2 separate regions of the Homo sapiens genome follow, and region 1 is linked to region 2. Evidence: promoter capture Hi-C in human tissues and cell types (Jung and others, 2019). All regions are on one chromosome and are shown on one strand. Each heading gives the region's core, a stretch centred on a gene start or on the middle of the fragment in contact. The rest is flanking DNA. Distances are from core to core; before and after follow the strand shown.

Evidence for each region. The method cuts DNA at HindIII sites, captures the fragments that hold promoters and counts their contacts. A contact is called where the count stands out against the background at its distance.
Region 1: a contact is called between a fragment that was not itself captured here and the fragment with the promoter of MAPKAP1 in region 2, in 3 of the 25 tissues and cell types used here (aorta, lymphoblastoid cells and small bowel).

What each region holds. Positions count from the first base shown.
Region 1 is chr9:125,737,084-125,743,924 of GRCh38, reverse strand. It overlaps PBX3-DT (PBX3 divergent transcript), which reads left to right. Exons shown (of 2, transcript NR_122032.1): 2 at 1-171. Among named protein-coding and RNA genes, the nearest start is that of PBX3-DT, 5.4 kb to the left of the region's middle. The HindIII fragment of the contact is 6,270 bases long and covers 1-6,091 here.
Region 2 is chr9:125,703,501-125,709,938 of GRCh38, reverse strand. MAPKAP1 (MAPK associated protein 1) reads left to right here and starts at 2,731. Exons shown (of 12, transcript NM_001006617.3): 1 at 2,731-2,968. RefSeq lists enhancers at 2,358-2,517, 2,515-2,809 and silencers at 2,518-2,687, 2,798-3,027. The HindIII fragment of the contact is 13,511 bases long and covers 1-6,438 here.

The sequences.
Region 1 (6,841 bases), core at 1,707-4,206, 34 kb before region 2:
TCTTGGTGCTCGTGCCAGTGTCTCATGTAGAATGTTGCGTGATCTCTGCTCAAGAATCTGAGTCACAAGGTTGATGCCTTCACAGATGACAGAACAGAAGTTCCCTGAGTACCCGAGTCTGTCTTTGCTGTTTCTAAGGTAGTGATTATTAAAATGTCAAGGGAAATGAAATTGACTTTTGGTGAGCAGACATTCATGTAAAGTTAACAGTGACAAAGTGGTGAAAACCAAGCAGATGTTCCTTCATGGCCATCCCTTTCCATGAGTTTATATTAACATCACCATTGCCTCTGTCATCAATAGGGTGACTATCACAGCAGATGCCATTATTGAGCACTTTCTTTGGGGGTACACTATCCTCTGTGTTCCCTTGCTTCATCTTATTACAGTCTCACAACAGCCTGCTTGGGATTGTTATTAAATAAGAAATAGAATGAGAGAGAGTAAGAAATTTCCACAAGACCACAAAGCCAGTAAGTACTAGAGCTTGAATTCAAATATTGATCTATGTGGCTGCAAAGACTACCGTATAAAACACTGTGCAAAAAAGTAATTTAGCCAGGCTGGTGACATGCAACTGTAGTTCCAGCTACTTTAGAGGCAGAAACAGGAGAATCACTTGAGTGCAGTAGTTTGAGGCTGCAGTATGCTATGATCACACTTGTGAATAGCCACTGCACTCTAGCTTGAGCAAAGTAGTGCTACCATTTCTCCTAAAATTTTTTTAAAAGTTATTTAAGATTATGAAGTAAAAATCACAAGACCTTAACAGATAAACTGAAAAATTAATGAAAATAAGTAACTAGGTGCTTAATAAAGAGAGAATAAACAGCTATATTAGAGGAATCCAGGTCTCAAGGCAGGGGAGGAGGGAAATTAAGGACAGTCAGACCATTCTTCAAAGCCACATTGGGTCCCACCTCTCCGAAGCTTTTCTGTGATGCCTGTCTTCTCTGATCTTTGTCTCCTCTAAACTCCCTCAGAAGATTGCAGTGAGATCGCCTCATTACACTCCAGCCTGGGCAACAGAGTGAGACTCTGTCTCATAAATAAATAAATAAATAAATAAATAAATAAATAAACTCCCTCAGTATATGTTGCCTGTAATACATAACCTACTACCATACTAGATAGTCTTGCACTGTTTGTTCTCCATCCACCTCTGTTAGTTTCCTCATCTAGGTCATAAAAATGTCAAGGGCAAGGTGTCGTAAGATGTGACTATAATATGACAGATTTGATTTTTTTTTAAATCATAGACATCTAAGAAAAGGTAACACTCTCCAACTTGTCACTTTGGGGAAACTGACTAAATGCTTCTTTTCAAAATGTATCATTGCTCCATTGCTTTAGGAATGACTATCTATTTGTTTATTTGTTTGTTCATTGATTTGTTTCTCTAGAGAGTGGGACTTGCTCTGTCACCCAGGCTGGAGTACAGTGGCGCGATCATAGCTCACTGTAACTTTGAATTCCTGGGCAATCCTCCTGCCTCAGGGCTCCTGAGTAGCTGAGACTGCAGGTGCACACCACTACACCCAGCTAATTTTTTGTATTTTTTTTGTATGGATGAGGTCTCGCTATGGTGCTCAGGCTGCGTTCAAACTCCTGGCCTCAAGGGATCATCCCACCTCAGCATCTCGAAGTACTGGGATTACAGGCATGAGCCACTGCACCCAGACAGGAATGACTCTTTAGAATTGGTCTTTACAGTTGATAGCACATGTGACATATGACCAACGTTTATCTTCTAAGGATGGATTTGATTGAGTTACCAAAGATTTAGTGGGATAACAGTCCATCCTTCTAAAGTGATGCCTTTAAAAGAGAATATTTATCAGAATGTATAATTTCTAGAAAAATTTGGTAGAATGCTCCCTCTCTTATGTCCCTTCATAGCACCCAGTACGGTGCAGTTTCATACAGAATAGACAGTTGGGGCCGACATGACCAGTTGTTGGCCTGCCATCCATTGGCTTACTTCCTTCTACACCAATAGAAGCCTGATTTTATTCTGAAGACAATGTGCTCAGTCCCAATCAAGGTCTAAAACAAGTATGAGCATCCTGTCCCCTGCCTTCTGAGCCTGTCAGGAGGAGGGGTGACCTTGCTAATTTTTTAAAAAAGGGACAGATAGGCCAGGCGTGCTGGCTCATGCCTGTAATCCCAGCAATTTGGCCACTGCACTCCAGCCTGGGCAAAGAACGAGACCCTGTCTCAGAAAAAGAAAAAAAAGGGGACAGACATGGCTCTTCTCTCCTTCATTTTCCTGGCTCTTTCCATCTTTGAAAGTAGTCCTGAATCTGGAGTGCTCATAGCAGCCACCTGTGATAGTGAAATGAAAATATGAAGACAAAATCAACATGGTTTGGTGGTTTATATCTGTGGTCTTCCTCCCAAAGCTTGTAATCCCAGACCAATAATTAGAAAAATATTACACAAATACTAATTGAAGGACATTCTACAAAATACCTGGCCAGTAATTTCTCTGGTCTTTGTACTCCTTGTAACTGTCAAGGTCATAAAGAGTAAGAAAAGTTGAAAAACTGTCACAACCAAGAAGAGCCTAAGGAGAAATGAGGACTGGATGTAATCTAGCATTCTGGATGGGATCCTGGAACAGAAAAGGGATATTAGGTAAAAACTATGGAAATTTGGCCAGGCGCGGTGGCTCACGCCTGTAATCTCAGCACTTTGGGAGGCCGAGACAGGCGGATCATGAGGTCAGGAGATCGAGACCATCCTGGCTAATACAGTGAAACCCCGTCTCTACTAAAAAAATTTTTTAAAAAAATTAGCCGGGCGTGGTGGCTGGCGCCTGTAGTCCCAGCTACTCGGGAGGCTGAGGCAGGAGAATGGCGTGAACCCAGAAGGCAGAGCTTGCAGTGAGCCCAGATGGCGCCGCTGCACTCCAGCCTGGGCAACAGAGCGAGACTCCGTCTCAAGAAAAAAAAAAAAAACTATGGAAATTTGAATAAAGTATACACTTCAGTTAGTGATAACATTTCACATTGGTTCATTAATTTCAAAAAGTACCATATTAATGTGAGATGTTAATAATAGAGGAAATAGTGTATGGGATATTAGGGAACTCTCTGTACCACCTTCTAAATTTTTTTTTCTTTTTTTTTTTTTTTTGAGACGGAGTCTCGCTCTGTCGCCCAGGCTGGAGTGCAGTGGCGCAATCTCGGCTCACTGCAAGCTCCACCTCCTGGATCCACGCCATTCTCCTGCCTCAGCCTCCGGAGTAGCTGGGACTACAGGCACCCACCACCACGCCTGGCTAATTTTTTGTATTTTCAGTAGAGGTAGGGTTTCACCGTGTTAGCCAGGATGGTCTCGATCTCCTGACCTCATGATCCACCCACCTCGGCCTCCCAAAGTGCTGGGATTACAGGCATGAGCCACCGCATCCGGCCCCACCACCTTCTAATTTTTATCTGTAAATACTTTAAAAAAAAACATTCAGGGCCAGGAGCGGTGGCTCACGCCTGTAATCCCAGCACTTTGGGAGGCTGAGGCGGGTGAATCACGAGGTCAGGAGATCGAGACCATCCTGGCTAACACGGTGAAACCCCGTCTCTACTAAAAATACAAAAAAATTAGCCAGGCATGGTGGCAGCCGGCTGTAGTCCCAGCTACTCGGGAGGCTGAGGCAGGAGAATGACGTCGACCTGGGAGGTGGAGCTTGCAGTGAGCCGAGACTGAGCCACTGCACTCCAGCCTGGGTGACAGAGCGAGACTCTGTCTCAAAAAAAAAAAAAATAAGTAAATAAAATAAAACATTCATTCAAAACAAAAATAAACATGGTAAGTGGGGTAGAAAGATAAGGAGAGCCTAGGTGTCTGCAGACATGGTCCAACATCTGAGCCAAAGAAGCAACTGCTTTCCCTTGGATTTCTAGTTTTGTGAGTAAATTCATCTCCTGTTTTAAAATCCTATTGGCTGGGTTTTCTGTATCTTGCAGAAAAGCTGATATAGCACTATAAACACTTATATGACAGATGTATGTGTGGATGGATGGATGGATGGATGGATGGATGGATGGATGGACTGATGGATGGATGGATGGAATAGCCTAGCACAATGCCCGACACATAGTAGGAGCTCCTAGAGTGGGGGAGATGATGTATGATAAAAAAAAAAATTCCTCTCGTCTTTGTATTGGATTCCTGGGAGGTAACATCTAAAACCCTTGAAATCTCCCAAGCTATAAGAGTGTTTTTATTATTCATGAGGCCCTTAGATCACATCTAATTTTATGCTAAAGTGATGACTCAGGATGGTGGCTGGTCACCAGAAAGACCAACCATGTGATTAGAGTGTTGGGGCTTTGAGGGAGCTGGAGATTGAGTTCAGTCATAAGGCCAATGATTCAATCAATCATGTCTATATAATGAAACTCCGATAAAAACTCTGGACACCCAAGCCCAGAAAAGCTTCCTGGTTGGTGAATACATTGATGTGCCAGGAGGGTGATACACCCTGACACCATGGGGAAAAGCATGGAAGCTCTGCATTCAGGACCCTCCCAGCTCTTGCCCTTGACCTCTCTACTTGACTGGCCCTGGTTTATATCCCTTATAATTAAACTATAATGCTGAGTATAGTGCTTTCCTAAGTTCTGTGTCATTCTAGCAAATTATAGAACCTAAAGGGGTCACAGGAACACCCACATTTTCAGCCAGTTGGTTAGAAGTACAGGTGGCCAGGGGACCTCAGAACTTGTGGCTGGCATCTGAAGTGAAAGCAGTCTAGTTGGGCACCATGCCTTTAACTGGGATTAATTGACTGTCATTTCTAAGAGGCCTACTTAAAGGAACCTAATTTAATTGAGACAAATTCCTTTTGCCTTTTCCCCACCTCCTTTTCCCAGCCTGTAGTTGATGTCTGGAGCTCCAGGAGTCATCTTGGCCCATGAAATGATCTTGAGAGTGGAGGTCAGGCACTAGGATAGTGAAGCAGAAACTTAAGAACCTGGGGCACGGGTGGCACCATGAAGCCACCATCTAAGGGATAACACCAACCCTTGATTGCTTCTTCCACACGGCTCTTACAGAAGAAGGAATAAACTTCTGTCTTATTAAATCCACTGCCATATACTTATTTCCAGTACAGGCAGCCAAACTTAATCCTAATTAATAAGGAAGCCAGGGTCTAACATAGAAAGAGTACAGTTGTAGGCACTGTAGCCCTGTAGTTAAGAGCTCTGCATCTGGGATCAGGCAAACTTGGATCTGAATCCTAGCTCCACCACTAAATGGCTACTTGGCCTCGGTCAGGTTATTTAGCCTCTCAGCTTTCTCATCTGTCAATGACAGTAATAATAGTAATAACCTACCAGCCAGGCATAGTGGTTCATGCCTGTAATCCCAGCACTTTGGAAGACTGAGGCGGGCGGATCACGAGGTCAAGAGATGGAGACCATCCTGGCCAACATGGTAAAACCCCGTCTCTACTAAAAATGTACAAAAAATAGCTGGGTGTGGTGGCACACGCCTGTAGTCCCAGCTACTTCGGAGGCTGAGGCAGGAGAATCGCTTGAACCCGTGACGTAGAGGTTGCAGCGAGCCGAGATCGCGCCACTGCACTCCAGCCTGGCAACAGAGCGAGACTCCATCTGAAAAAAAAAAAGACTTAACACACTGAGGTATAGTAAAAACTATCATTACAATGAATATGAGAGTCCATTGTAAAAGGTAAATCTCTAACATTTGCTTCCCGGTCCTCCACATCCCAAGATTCATCCTCAGTTCTCTGCCCTCCTCTTCCTCCTCTTCTTTTCTCTCTTCCCCTTTCTTCTTTCTCCTTCTCTTCCTTTTCCTTTCTCTTTATCTGCTTCCCTCATCTTCCTATTCCTTTTCTCTTCCTTTTCTTTTCTCTTCTCTTCCTACCCTTTCACCCTCTACAATCTAGTTAGTTCACCCCACAGCCAGCCCTGCACCTGTAATTCCACCTCTTGCTTCATTTTGAGAATTCCAACACCTCTCCTAACAACCAGACCTCACTCATCTGGCCTGCCAGTGCTTCAAACTCCGATTCTCCTCTATATTCATCACCTATTGCTGTGAAACAAATTATCCCAAAACTTCTTGGCTTAAAATAATAAACACCCGGCCGGGCGCGGTGGTTCACACCTGTAATCCCAGCGCTTTGGGAGGCCAAGGTGGGTGGATCACCTGAGGTCAGGAGTTTGAGACCAGCCTGGCCAACCTGGTGAAACCCCATCTCTACTAAAAATACAAACTTAGCCAGCCGTGGTGGCACATGCCTGTAATCCCAGCTACTTGCGAGGCTGAGGCAGGAGAATCACTTGAACCCGGGAGGCGGAGGTTGCAGTGAGCCGAGATCGTGCCATTACACTCCAGCCTGGGCAACAAGAGTGAAATTTCATCTCAGAAAAAAAAAAAAACTTTGAAGACAAGTAATGTTAACCCTATTGTACAGCTACAGTTGTGGAAATAAAAGCTGCTGACACTGAGTGCTTAGTTTGTGGCAGGCACTGTGCTAGTGGTTTCTCATATAACATCTAATGACACCTTCACAACAACCCTATGAGATGGGCTTTAACCTCCCCATCTATAGTTGAAGAAAGGAAGACTTAAAGACGTCTACTTTTTGTACAGCCTATAGATATGAGGAAGAAAGAAAAAAGGTGTCCACTTTTTAATTTGACCAAGGTCACATGGCTGGTAAATGAACTGTGATTCAAAAACTTCATCTACCTCATCTGGCCAGGTACGGTGGCTCACACCTGTAATCCCAGCACTTTGGGAGTCTGAGGGGGGCAGATCACTTGAGATCAGAAGTTGAAGACCAGCTTGGCCAAAATGATGAAAC
Region 2 (6,438 bases), core at 1,482-3,981:
GGTAGGCATTAGTAAATAATAGTCACATGCCAGGCTCTGTTATATGTAAGCTACATGTATTAGGTCATTCTATCCTTGCAACAAACTAATGAGGTTATGTAGGACTTCTGTCATTCCCATTTTCCAGGTAAAGATAAGAATATTTAGAGAAGCAACTTGGAGAGATGAAGTCACAAAACTTGTAAGTGGCAGAGTGAGTATTCACTTTTTATTTTTCTAATTTTTTTTTCAAGACAGGGCATTGCTCTTTCATCCAGGCTGGAGTGCAGTGGCATGATCACGTCTCACTGCAGCCTTGACCTCCCAGGGCTCAAGCAATCATCCCATCTCAGCCTCCCAAGCAGCTAGGACTACAGGCATTCACCACCACACCTGGCTAAAAAAAATATATGTGTATATGTGTGTGTATATATATATTTTTTTATTTTTTATTTTTTTGAGACAGACTCTCACTCTGTTGTCCAGGCTGGGCTGCAGTGGTGTGCTCACTGCAACCTTCACCTCCCAGGTTCAAGCGATTCTCCTGCCTCAGCCTCTCAAGTAGCTGGGACTACAGGTGTGTGCCACATGCCTGGCTAATTTTTCGTATTTTTTTTTTTTTTTTTTTAGTAGAGACAGGGTTTCACCATGTTAAGACAGGATGGTCTTGATCTTCTGACCTTGTGATCCGCACCCCTTGGCCTCCCAAAGTGCTGGGATTACAGGCATGAGCCACCGTGCCCGGCCTATATAGAGATAAATTTTTTAAGGTAGTGATGGGGTCTCACCATGTTGCCTAGGCTGGTCTTGAACTCCTGGGCTCAGATGATCTTCCTGCCTTGGTCTCTCAAAGTGCTAGGAAATATTTACTCTTTAGAATCTATAACTGCTTAGCAGTTTTAGATAGGTCGAGTTTTATGTGTCTAGGAGACAGTCAGGCAGCTGTGCTTCAGATTGGAACTCGAGAGAGAGAGAGAGGAAAATGGAGAGTAAGATTTAGGAAGGAACAGATAACCTGGTGACCTCAGAAAATCAAATATCCAAACTTGTTCACACCTGCTGCTTTGTTAGAGTGCCTCTGACAGGTCCCTGATGGAACTGTGGTGGTGTGTGTGCAAGAGTGTGTCTGGGTGCTGAGGTGCACTATTCCCCCAGTATAGATATGTGGTAAGATACCAATTACATAAAGTAATGGGATGTAGTAAGAGATCAATCACATATGGTCATGCGTGGAATGAGGATGTTTTGGTCAATGACAGAGTGCATATGATGGTGGTCCCCTAAGATTATAACATGGTCTTTTAATTGTACCTTTTCTGCATTTAGAGATGTTTAGATACACAAATACCATTGTGTTAGAATTGCCTACAGTATATGGTACAGTAACATGCTGTACAGGTGTGCAGCCTAGAAGCAATAGGCTAATACCAAACAGCCTAGGTGTGTAGTAGGCTCTGACATTGTGTAAGTACAGTCTATGATGTTTACACAACCACAAAATCAGCTAACGATGCATTTCTTGTGTCCTCATCATTAAGTGATGGATGACCATATTTGAAATACATGGGTAGACCCACCGTGTTTTTTGTTTTTTTGTTTTGAGACAGAGTCTCTGTCACCCAGGCTGGAGTGCAGTGGCCTGATCTTGGGTCACTGCAACCTCTGCCTCCCGGGTTCAAGCCATTCTCCTGCCTCAGTCTCCTGAGTAGCTGGGACTACAGGTGCACACCACCACGCCAGACTAATTTTTGTATTTTTAGTAGAGACAGGGTTTCACCATGTTGGCCAGGCTGGTCTCGAACTCCTGATCTCAAGTGATCTGCCCTCCTCGGCCTCCCAAAGTGCTGGGATTACAGGTGTGAGCCACCGTGCCTGGCCCCATGGCATATTTATTAATAAGTTTAAAATTGGGCAGGGGTCCCTCAGGGCTGAAATTCAACCTTGAGTTTTTTCTTTTGCTAAGGTGCGTTTTTGAGAGACTTCCCCAAGCATCTTTCAGGTGGGAGAACCACTCTCACTGCACTCCCTGAATCCTTTTTCCCCCTTCATCGTGGCTTTCTCTACTGATTTCCTCCGTGAGAGAGGAAGGGAGCAGCATGAGACACACTGAACTTCTGCCCTGTGCCAGTCCTCCTACATCTCCTGGAAACCTCCCAGCAGGGCTTGAGGAAGATTATTGTCACCTCCATATTACAGATATTATAATAAGAGAAATAACTAACATTGACTGCATGTTTACTATGTGTCAGGCACTATGCTGGGTGTTTTTCAAGCATCATCCCATTCGATTCCCACAGCAATATACTCTAAAGTTGAAACTATTGCCCTGGATGGGAAAACCCGAGGCTCAGAGAGAAGTGTCACATCCTAGGACACACAGCAAGTTATAAGAGCTGGCATTTGAACCCAGGTCTTTCTCAGAGAGGCTGAGCTGCCTCATCACTCATTTCTGGACGAACTAAGGGCTTTTCTCCGTGGAAATGGGGAGAAAGAAGATTCGATGGAGAAGCCTAACACTGATTCCTGCTCAAGGCAAGTCCAGGCACTGGCGCATCTTGCCAGAACTCAGTCTCCGACCCAGGCCTTTCCCTGCACTGGAGAAGCGGCGCGCATGCGCCCGGCCTCCCTCCCGGCCCCGCCCCGCGGGAAGCTACCGCTCCTTGCTTTCAGCTCTGGGGCTTGCGCACTACGTCCCCAGCCAGAGGCTCCTTCCCGGTCGGGGACTTCCGGAACGCCGGGGTGTGGTTCCGGGTCGTGTGCGGCTCGGGGTAATAGGGCTGCTGCTCGGCCGGCCGGCGGCGGCGAGCAGCAGGGGCATGAGGGCTAACCCGGGAAGCGGCAGCTGAGCGGGCCGGGAGGAGCGCCGGTCCCCGTGGATCCCGAGAGTGCAGAGCTCGGGGCAGGGGCCGGGAGGCGTGGGGGAGCCGGGCCCTCCCCTCAGGAACGTGTCCCGGGGCCGACCCGGCCCGTAGTGTGGAAGCAGCTTCAGGTAAAGGTTGCCCCAGCCGCCAGCTCCCCGCCCGTCCGTCAGCCCACCAGCTTGCCCACCTGGCGGCCCTCTCACCCCTCCAGTTTCAGCGCTGCCCGGCGGGCCGCCTGCCGGGCCCTTGTTCAGGTGGCCCGGGCGCGTTCGTTTCCTGGCCATTTCCAGAACTGGAGGCTGTCAGGAGTCTGAGGCGGGTGTGTGGTTTAGGGGAAAAGAAGCCAGCTGACCTGGTAGTGTGGGGGTGGGGGGTGTAGTTGACTCCGGCAGTTTCTGGGCCTGCACTTGGCAATATCTAGGTGCCCTGGTCTTCATAATGTGAAAATCAAGGTTTTCAAGCATTGACTGTGTGGTCCTTGTTTCCTTGCGTCCCTTCTCCCCCTCCCCCTTAAAGAGGTTAACAGCCTTACAGACTTTTTTCTAGCTACAGTGCTGCTGGAACTTTGATTCATTCTTTGTTTATGGGAGTGGCAAGGAGTCATTTAGATTTGTTTAAGGCTGGGAAAAAGAGATTGTAGCGTAAACAAGATTATGACTTTAACCAGAGACCCCCAAATTGACTCAGAAATTGGTTAAAACTTCCTTTTGAATGAATGAAAGTCACTTTGGAAGCCCACCACAGTACCTGGCACTGTACAAAGCACCATGTTGTTATAAACCCAAATCGGCAAAGTTCAAAACTTTCCCAGGTGTGAAGAGTCAAATGGAGACCCATTGGTTTAAAAAAAGCAGCGTTCTCATTCTCTGACAAGCAGGAGAGGTGGATCCGTAATGTTAAAACCCACTTGAGCAGAAGCCTAGATATGGGTTTTATTCCTTATATTTTATGAGCCCACACAAGGTACCTAGTAAACACGGAAAGAGTTCTTGATGAAGCAATAATTGTTTTCATGTTTTTCAGTTTACACACCTGCGGGATTTGGGGCATGCTGGTAGCCCTTTCCCATTCATCTGTGTGCTCATGCCTACCTTCAACTACTGTGTGTCCCAGACTGCACTTACACCCCCTTACATCTCCTAATCTGGCTCCTGGTTACCTTTCCAGTTATGCTTGAAAAGGTCTCCTTCTTTAATTACCCCATCCTGATCCATTACTCTGAATAAGTAGGATCTCTAATCATTTTTGTTCTTTCCTATTCCATTGATTTTTGTAGAACATTCTCCCTACCTTGCCTAGGTTTCCCCTTTTCTCTTTCAGTCTATTGAGACGCTTCCCACGGCTCAGCTGAGTTGGCCTCACCCAACCAATTCAGGACAACCCCACCTGGAAATGATTTTTCCTCTAGAATTCTATAAGCGCTCATTTTTATCTACAATTATTTAACTTAGCAAATGTTTACTGAATATGGATATGTATATATATGCCAGGTACCATGCTAGGCAATTAGAGATAAATATAAGATTCAGTCTTTGCTGCCAGGGAGCTCAATTTAGTGAAAGAGAGATAAGGGAAATGAATAATTCTAACACCGTGATAAGTACATTGTGTGAGAGTTCTTGTGACAGTGGTAGGTGCGGGAGGGGAATGGGTTATTCACCTTTGAGGGATGGGATGTGGCCAGGTAATGCTTCATAATTTGAGGTAAACTAAACTTTGAGTATTTGGGTATTATATAGGGGTTTCTATTGTTTAATCATTTTAACCTCAATTTACAGATTAGGAAGACCCATAATAAATTACACAGCTGGTAGGAGACAGAGCCAGGATTCAAACCCAGGTCTGTCTGATGCCTAAATCTGTGCTTTTTCCATTACATGTCTTGCCTTTTTCTCACATCATCTCCCTCTTTTTATGCAAGTACATATTGAAACCAAAAGTTATATAGGACAAAACATATGAATGTTAAAATGAATGGTACAGAAATCTTTTAAATGTAAAGACTGTGCTCTTCCAAGGCAAGGAGATGGCAGGTAGGTTAGTTAGCTCAGCTTTGAATATGAGCAGAGAAGACAGTCTATAGAAAATAGGCATGGACTCTGGATTCAATTCCTGGTCCCTGTTCTTACAGGATATGTGACCTTCGACACATAACTCCAAGCATCACTTTCTTCAACTAGGGGTTGGGTTAGGGAATAATATTGACCACATGGAGTGTTGTGAATATTTATTGAACTAATGGGGATAAAGGGCCTGGTACGTGGTAAAGTCCCCCGAAATAAATAGCTATAAGATACAAAGGTATAATGCTTGAGGCATGGTTTTAGACTGGTGAGTGAGTTTACAGCCTGAGTCATGCAAGTCATTGCTTCTTTTAGCAGGGTACAAGGACGTAAAGTTGGAGGGGCGGTAGGGGTCAGAGTCAGTGAGGGCTTGAGTACCAGGCAAGGGAGGTAAATTCCAGTTTCTGCTAATAACTTTTCCAGTTAATAAATACTTCGAGGATCTACGATTCATTTCAGCAGTGCCAAGCAAAATGTTAGACCTTGGGGATACAAAAAGAAGTAAAATTGGGTCCCTATCCTGAGGTTATTGACATTCTAGTAGAGGAGATGTCTGTGTGTGTGCAGGTGAACCATAATAAAGTACTGTGGGTTCTAAGGTAGAAGTCCCCAGGAGGTACCATAGAACACTGAGAAGGAAACACTGATGATGGTAGGTAATGAGTACTTACTCTGCTGGTGTGATGTTAAATGCTTTATCTCATTTTTTTCTCGTGTGAGAAGGTGTTATTAGCATCCTGATTTTACAGATGAGGAAACTGGGGCACAGAGACCTTGAATAACTTCCTTGAGTTTATGCTGCTGGTAGAGCTGTAAGATAGAGGGGATTATCTGCTGAACACTGAGATCGGCACTCTTCATTACTACACCATGTTGCTTGTTCTTTGTGATGTGGATGCGGACCCTCTGGAAAGGCTTCAGAGAGAAACTTGCCCTTGAGCTGTAGCTTCAGTGTGCCAGTCATTGTGAGACAGGAGGGATCACGAGGAATGGAAGTGGCCTTTGCACTAAAGGAGCTCATAGCCTTATCTGTTACTTTAAATGTTTTTCTTTTTTGGTGGGGGAGCTTGTTTTGCTTATTGACTTATACCTGAAGACTTCAGAAACTTTTGCAGTTGAGTGGATTTATATGATTCAGCCTAAGATAATTTGCTGGCAATCTGTTATTCTGATGTATAGGCCTTACTGTTACGGACGCAGTTGTAGATGTCAAATTATTATATGACAAGGACTTCTGTCACGTTACTTGTTTTTTTTTTTTTTTTTGAGACAGTCTTGCTCTATCACCCAGGGTGGAGTGCAGTGGCATGATCTTGGCTGACTGCAACCTCTGCCTCCTGGGTTCAAGAGATTCTCTTGCCTCAGCCTCCCAAGTAGCTGGGACTATAGGCAGGTGCCACCACGCCTGGCCAATTTTTGTGTTTTTAGTAGAAACGGGGTTTTGCTGTGTTGGCCAGGCTGGTCTCAAACTCCTGACCTCAAGTGATCTGCCTGCCTCGGGCTCTCAAAGTGCTGGGATTACAGGCGTGAGCCAC